Regions from separate parts of the Homo sapiens genome. Here region 2 is linked to region 1. Evidence: promoter capture Hi-C in human tissues and cell types (Jung and others, 2019). All regions are on one chromosome and are shown on one strand. Each heading gives the region's core, a stretch centred on a gene start or on the middle of the fragment in contact. The rest is flanking DNA. Distances are from core to core; before and after follow the strand shown.

Region 1 (3,942 bases), core at 1-2,500:
AATCTAAAGAGTTGGAAGAATTTAATATTACACCAAAAGCCTTTTAATCCAGGAATGGCGCATACTAAGCAGTCATCAAATGGTGACTGTTATTAATATTATTCTTACCACAAGGAAAGCAGTGAATTTTTAAAAGTGCATATATTAGCATAGTAGGCTGAGGACCTATTTAACACATCTTTTTAAATTGCACTTAATTATCCTTAGTCGCCTTTGGACTGTAACTTTACAATATAATTTATGACCCGCCCACAATGACCTTGATTTTTTTTTCTCTTCTACTTTTAGAGACTGCTATATTGCAATATTTTAAAGTAATAATTGGTCATGTCCTCTCAGCCCTGGTGATACAGACATCCACCCTGACTCTCAAGGGATCTTAAAATGTGACCCACATATAGCTTGAAAAAGACCGTAACTTAAATGGACTCTGCAGTTACAATCCAGCGACCTGTTACAGTGAACAGTAACAAGTGCAAACTGCTGCCATCCATAAGCCATTTTCCGAAAACCTCTTTGGATCAAGAGGAGAGGAGTGAGAAGGTCAATAAAGGAGCAAACTGTTTGTCCTCTCTGCAGCTTCACACCAGAAGTCTGGAATGAATGAAAAGCTCTGGAATAGCACAGAGAAACCCGGGATCCCAGTGCAGGTCTCCAGACGGGGGTGCGGGGAGAGAAACTGTAGTTTACAAGCGAGAAACTCAGGATACAGATTTAAAATAAATAAATAAATAACTAGCCAACATCGTCTCGACTAGAGCAGGAACCCCCCACCCCCAGTTGAGGGAGGAGCACTTAGCAAGGGGCTGTAGCTCTAGCAGAAGACGCTCTGAAAAAGGCCAGGCCTGGGGCGGGGAGGCACCGAGAAACCCCCGGGTTCCAAACAGAGCAGGTGCAGGGGGCGTGCAGGAACAGGTGAGGGCGTCCCGGCGCGGAGGAGCGGCGGGCGGGCCCGGCAGAGCGGAGCGGGGGCCGGGGATGGGGGTGGGGGTGCGGATGGGGATGGGGGTGGGGGCGGCCGCTTCGCCCCCGCGCCTGCACACTCACCGTCGCCGCTGGCTCGCCTCTCGCTGCCGCCGCTCTCCCGACCGCCAGCAGCTCTTTCCCCTCCTCCTGCCGCGCCACCTCCGCCTCCTCCGGCGCCGCCGCCCAGGCCGGGCCGCTCTCCCCTTCCGCTTCCGGGAGCCTGAGGGCCTGGACCGGCCGAGTGGGTGTCCGCATGCCCGCGCGCCCGCGTGGGGAGGGACGACTGCCGCCGTCGCCGTCTCGCTTAGCTCCCGGGAGCCGCGATGGGAGCCGCTGAGGGCCGAAACTCCTGCAATCGCGCCGCAGCCCCAGAGCCGCGGACCCAGGCAGACCGCACTCTCCAGAGCGCTTGCACCTGGCGCGCCTGGGCGCCTCTGCCCCTCCCCAGCCCTACTTGAGCCGTCCTTCTCATTGTCCCCATATCCTCACTGCTCACCTCTCCCGAGAGACAGGATGGGGGCCTTAGCTTAAAAGATTGCATGTATCCTTTCTTCGGGGGATGTGGCCAGCAGGCCTCTCTCCCCGCAGGTGTTCTGGGATGTCCCATGGTACCTTGCTTCAAAGCGCGGTCTGCAGCATCAGCATCCTCTGGGAACTCACAATCTTTGAAATGCACAATTTCAGGCCTGCTGAATCAGTACATGCACTTCAGCAAGATCACCAGGTGACTCCTGGGGTGCACCGTAAAGATGGAAAAGCATTGCACTGTAGTGCATGGTCTCGTCCACTTCAGACCCTCTATTGGGTTGCCTCAGACATCCCAGGATATTTCCTGTTCCTGTCCTCAACCTAAATCCACACCCAAACAATCTTTTCTTATATTTTGGGAGACCTCCAAAAGTTTCCTGCTTTCCCATCCCTGCAAAAGCCGACAACTTTTGGACTCAGCGATGCAAGTAATCCACCTCTCAGTCTAACTTGGTATCTTCACCAAACACCAGAGATCTACTAACTTTCCCACCTCACTCCGGCTGAACAGTATTTGGGGAAGGTTAAACCGTTTGCAGTAATGTGGAGCTAGATCTTTCTGCCCACGTGCCACAGGAGGAGACAGTGTGTTGGTGGAAGAAATATTACCTGTTGTATAAAATCTGTATTCCTTATAAGATGTGCTTAAAAGCCCTCCACAGACACATCCCTACCTACCTCTCCAGTCTTAGCTCCAACTAATTTGGTTCATTTCCCCATTCTAGAATGCCCTGCTCTCTGATGATCTTAACCCTATCCAGATTTGAGAGTGGAAATCTTGCCAAACCAGAGTTCTCTCACCACTGCCCTTATATAGTGCACATTGTTGCCTGTTTGGGGCCTCATATTACCTTGTATTGCTAAGGATTTTTAAACATGTTGTGTCCTGGTTTCTGAACTAATTATAAACACCTTGTGACCTTAAAAACTTTGGTCAGTGGTTATCAAAGTGGGATCCCTAGACCAGCAGCATCGGTATCACCTGTCAACTTGTGAGAAATCCATATTCTTTTGCCCCATCCCAGATCTACTGTAGTAGAAACTGTTTAGGTGTAGCCCAGCAATCCGTGATGTAACAAGCCTTTTAGGTGATCCTAATACACACTCAAGTTTTAGAATTACTGACCTAGATTACTAGATATTCCCAAAAGAACCCAGTGGTAGGAATTGATTTACCCATAAGCAGATTTTATTGCCTTTCAGGTTAACAAATACACTCCCCGATATATGCATAGCGAGGTTGAAAGACTAGTCACGATTGCTTTTGATAGAATTACCTTTATTTTTCATAAATCATTTGATGTAGTAGGATTTTTGTAACTTTCTCTGTTTGAAAAGAAGGAGATATTTCATATAAACAATCACTTTGAAGGAAGAGGAAATGTGGAATCCTCCCACCGGAATCCAGCTACCTGATTGCGTATTCAATGTGAATCCCTTCTACCCAAATCCAGCTACCTGATTGCATATTAAATGTGGACTCCTCCCTACCCGAATCCAGCTACCAGAATTGCATATTAAATGTAAAATCCCCCCCCCACCCAAATCCAGCTACCCAATTGCATATTAAAAGTAGAATCCCCTCCACCTGAATCCAGCTACATGAATTGCATATTATTTTGCTTTCTCTTCAGATACCCCTGTGAGAGGGAATAATTTGTGACAAGTGATCTCAAAACTGCCAAAATAAGAATTAGTTGACAGGTCCATGATTGCACATGACAATTGGAAGTGCATGGATTTTTCAGTCCCTTTTTAAAATAAGTTAGCCTGTCTTTTATCAGCCAAATCAATTCCACAGAGAATTTTTAAGCAAGGGAATAGGAGAGAAGAGGCAGGAGAAACATCCTTAAAAACATGAACCTTTTTAGCATGGGCATTTCATGAGTATAATCAAAGGCCTGCCTATCCCTTACACTGAAGGTCAAGTCATCTGGTTCTATCATTCATGCTAATCATTGGTTATATTGTATTGCAACCCATACATTCAGGCACCTGGGTAACAATAAGGGGGTGAGGGAGATGTGGCATCAGGTAATCTTTTGAAAAGATTTTCTATTTACTGGGTATATTATGGAAAGACGATATAGATCGTACCATATTTTTTCCCTCCAGAATTCTAATCTACTTCATGGGGCCTGGGACAAACTGAAATGTGATTATTAATCAAACTAATATTTATCTGGAAGTAGAAAAAGTAGACAAGGACAAGTAGCATTGCTGCCACTGCCAACCAAGCTTCTAACAAAGGCACACTCAGGGCATTTATGAGGGTAAACACAGCCAACTCCTGTGCTTCTGTGCCGTGACTAGGGAGGATCTGGATTTTAGTGCAATTTCCAAAAATCAGTGCAGTCCAGAGTTTAATCAGTACTGGCTAATAGCCCTTGGCAGCTTTGGATGGATGGCATTCTCCACCTGCCCAGCTGGGTACCATGCCTTAAGCAC
Region 2 (3,954 bases), core at 1,455-3,954, 68 kb after region 1:
TGATTTGAGTTCATTATTAAATTGAGACTTAATAGAAATGGCCTTTTCCCCAGAAGCTAATACCAGTGTCTTTTTCATCAGATGGTGGGGGGATGGGGTGGGGGGGAGTCTTTACAGCTCATTCTCCATCATTAGTGTGTACAAGTGTTTCATGCTCTCATTCTCTTGAAGCGCTCTTGTTATAACGACTCCTAAAAAAAATTCTTCAATTCTAGAAGCCATAGGTTGTGCTTCATGGGTCACATCAATGAAAAGAAATAGCAAGTTGACTGATCTAGAAGTGGTTAACTGAAAATTCTTCATATTTCAGGGTGCCTGTATTAGTATATGCTCTCCTAATTTTGTATGGCTTGGACAACTCTTAAGATAGATGGGTTTAAGCTGCCTATTTGCCTCATCAACTGAGCCCATGGGAAGTGACTGAGGTGAATACTAAGAGAAAGCCTCTTGGGACTGAAATTTGCTCTGGGTACCCCACAGAATGTCTTGCATACAACATCTCTTTCTAAAGCAGAGTTCAGCCCAAGTTCACAAAGTTGAATATAGCTCCCTATGAAATAAAACCTCAAAGTCTAAAGAGTTCATAGAAACAAATAACAGCTTTCAAAATTAAAAATGGATTTTAAAAATTAATATCTCAGCCAGGCAAGGTGGCTCACGCTTGTAATCCCAGCACTTTCGAAGGCCAAGGTGGATGGATTGCCTGAGGTGAGGAGTTCGAGACCAGCCTGGCCAACATGGTGAAACCCCGTCTCCACTAAAAATACAAAAATTAGCAGGGCCTGGTGGCAGGTGCCTGTAATCCCAGCTACTCGGGAGCCTGAGGCAGGAGAATCACTTGAATCTGGGAGGTGGAGGTTGCTGTGAGCCGAGATTGTGCCATTGCACTCCAGCCTGGGCGACAAGAGCGAGACTTTGTCTCAAAATAACAATAATAATAATAATATCTCTTGTGCTAGCTTCAGCAACACGTACACTAAAAAATCATATCTCAGAGTTTATGAACTTAGATGATGGATGGAGGGCCAAGGAGGTTTTGTGCTTAGAATCCTCAGAATAGTGGGATCTCCCTGCAATTTGAAATTTCCTTGGTCACTCTGAATTTTTCTAAAAAAAATATAATGAAAGACACCAAAGAACAACATAAGTTTTAGCTTGATAATTTACATTTCAGAGTCATTACCTTTATACCCACAAAGGCCGAGTCCATGGAATATCCCCTTCTGATAATTTCCAAGGGCAACAAACCCACATTCTCACAGACTTCATATTCGGTCTGTGACCATTCAATATGAGACCACTTCAGTTCCAAACTGTGTGTGAAAGGAAAAGAGAAATCATGAGAATGCATAGTATATGCCTATAGGGATTCTCTGCTGAGCGGACTAGTGGAAAAACGTGGTTGATCAACCTACACCAGTGATGGAAATTCCTTAAGACTTATTTGACACATTTTAGTTCACAAAGAATGTCTACTAACATTATCTCATTTGATCCTTACAACAACCCTGTAAGGTAGACAGAGCAAGGATTAGAATTCCATTTCACAAATGAAGAATCTAAGGTTAAAAGGCTGCTGAATGTCTCCCAGATATTTACAACTAAAAGGGGACTCAATCGTGAATGTTTTGAAGGGAAAGGAACCAGCAGTTGTTAAGTTCAAGGAGACATTCCTTTTTGGAAAAGACACTGATAGGAAGTCTTCTATCTTATCATTTAGATAAGGATAATTGGTACAACAAGAACAATTCCAGACAGAGATATTCTCTGAACTTGGGTTCAGTTTAATAACAAAATATTTTTGAGGATGTGCTTGGGAATTAAAATGTACATGTGTTTCATAAGTGTTATTTGTTTCTCTTTCTGTGCATAAAAAAAGGACTCTACTGGTATGAGGCTTGGATGCAACTATATAACTAAATAAACCTGAGAAATAGAGGATAGTCTTTCTTTCCACAATATATTTAGTGAGTCCAACATTTGGTGGAAACTGTCTTCTTTAATCTTCATCTAGAGAGGAACATTTTTTTTCAAAAACAAACAGACAAACAAGCTTCAGAGAGGTTAAGTAACTAACTTAAAGGCAAAAAGTCATGACAAAGCTAATAGCAGAGATGAAATTCAAGCATAAATCTAATGCCAAATCTTCCATCCAACCTCTACCATTTCTCTCCCCAACTGAAGTTCTTTGCGACTCTTTTGTGAGCTCAAGCAGAGCAATACGGTTTTATCTTTACCCAGAAACATTTTCCTTTTTGAGGTCTTGCCTTTTTTTTGCCATCTGTAACCTTACTATAGAGCAGGATAAAAGACACAAGCAACCTTCACTACGATTGTTAACTGCACCTCCATTGTTTTTTATTCAGTTGCCTTTTATTCTAGATTTACAAAATCCTTAGTGGTTGCCTTACTTGTACTTCCCAAACCTCTAGTCAGATTTAGACTCTTTCCTCTTTACTTTTAAGTTTATTTATTATAATTTCTTTCTTTTTTTGTGGAACTAGAAATTCTGGGTGCCACCATATGGAACATGTGTTCACATATTTCACACACTCTCCAGGCTTTCCTGGGGCCATTCATATTAGGGAGGAAGTTTGTCTTCAAATAACCACTGTGTCCACACTGATCATGTGTCATAATCACGTTCTATGGATTAAGCTCACGAGCCAGATAAACTCAACAGTGTAGGTTCATAGCTGAGCATCATGGGCTAGGGGGCAAGGGTAGGGTAAGAGCATGGAATTATTACAGGGGCTCATGAATCTATATAAACATACCTGTTTATTCAGTCAGATTTAAAATTTATTGTTTGAGTTTATTGCTACTTCATATTAATAGAATTTTAAACAAGAAAAGAGGATCCTTGTATTAAAAAAATTGGAAACTTTATGGGTCTCTGATGCAACTGAATTTAAATCTCGCATGAAACAGATCAAGAAACAGAAATAAATGACTACGGTAATCCCTCTTTTTCACAATTTGCTTTCTGAAGGTTTCAGTTACTTGTGGTCAACCGTGATCTGAAAATATTAAGTGAAAAATCCCAGAAACAAATAATTCATAACTTTTAAACATCATGCTGTTCTGAGTAGTGTGATGAAATCTCACATCATCCCCTGCTGTTCCACTTGGGGCAAGAATCATCCCTTTGTCCAGCACATCCACACAGTAGATGCTACCTGCCCATTAGTCACTCTGTAGCTGGCTTGGTTATCAGATTGACTGCCAGCCACAGTGTCACAGTGCTTGTGTTCAAGTCACTCTAATTTTACATAATCATGGCCCCAAAGTGCAAGAGTAGTGATGCTGGCATCCCATGATAGTTGTTCTATTTTATTAGTTATTAATCTCTTACTGTGCCTAGCTTGTACATTAAACTTTATCCTAGCAACGTATGTGCAGTACAGGAAAAAGCACAGTGTACATAGGGTTCAATACTATTTGCACTTTAGACATCTGCTGGAGGTCTTAGAACATATCTCCCACAGATAGGAGGGATTAGTGTGTGCCTAAAGAATTACAAGATAACAAACAACAAGGATATCATAAATGCCAATAGAAATATGTTGCAAAGAATCCCAAAAGGATCCAGTTGAATGAGAAAGAAAAAAAAAGTCAGCAAGATGGATTAGGGGAAAAGAGAGAAAGATGAAATGGGAAGGAAAGGAGGACAGTGGGAAAGAATGAAACAAATACATTTGCATGGATTTCAGCCATCAGTAGGGTTCAAATGAGTTTCAATGTCCAATTCTTCTGAGAATTCATCCATTGCTAATGCTAACCATGACAAGTAAAAATCCATCAATGTCATTCTGTAGATCCTGGTGACCTCAAGGCGAAAAGCTAAATGCAATTTGATTTCTGATCTAAATTCAGAAGGGAACCATTCAGAGGGCTGTTCAGCTTCAAGGTATAAAGGGTCTTACTGTTTGGGAATGTGCATGCATTTCCCTG

What was found. The method cuts DNA at HindIII sites, captures the fragments that hold promoters and counts their contacts. A contact is called where the count stands out against the background at its distance.
Region 2: a fragment that was not itself captured here is called in contact with the fragment with the promoter of ZDHHC21 in region 1 in 2 of the 25 tissues and cell types used here (mesendoderm cells and thymus).

What each region holds. Positions count from the first base shown.
Region 1 is chr9:14,692,182-14,696,123 of GRCh38, forward strand. ZDHHC21 (zDHHC palmitoyltransferase 21) reads right to left here and starts at 1,251. Exons shown (of 10, transcript NM_178566.6): 1 at 1,048-1,251. RefSeq lists silencers at 893-1,032, 1,113-1,182 and an enhancer at 1,256-1,756. The HindIII fragment of the contact is 8,706 bases long and covers 1-3,942 here.
Region 2 is chr9:14,758,589-14,762,542 of GRCh38, forward strand. It overlaps FREM1 (FRAS1 related extracellular matrix 1), which reads right to left. Exons shown (of 37, transcript NM_001379081.2): 28 at 1,184-1,313. Among named protein-coding and RNA genes, the nearest start is that of CER1, 38 kb to the left of the region's middle. The HindIII fragment of the contact is 4,095 bases long and covers 658-3,954 here.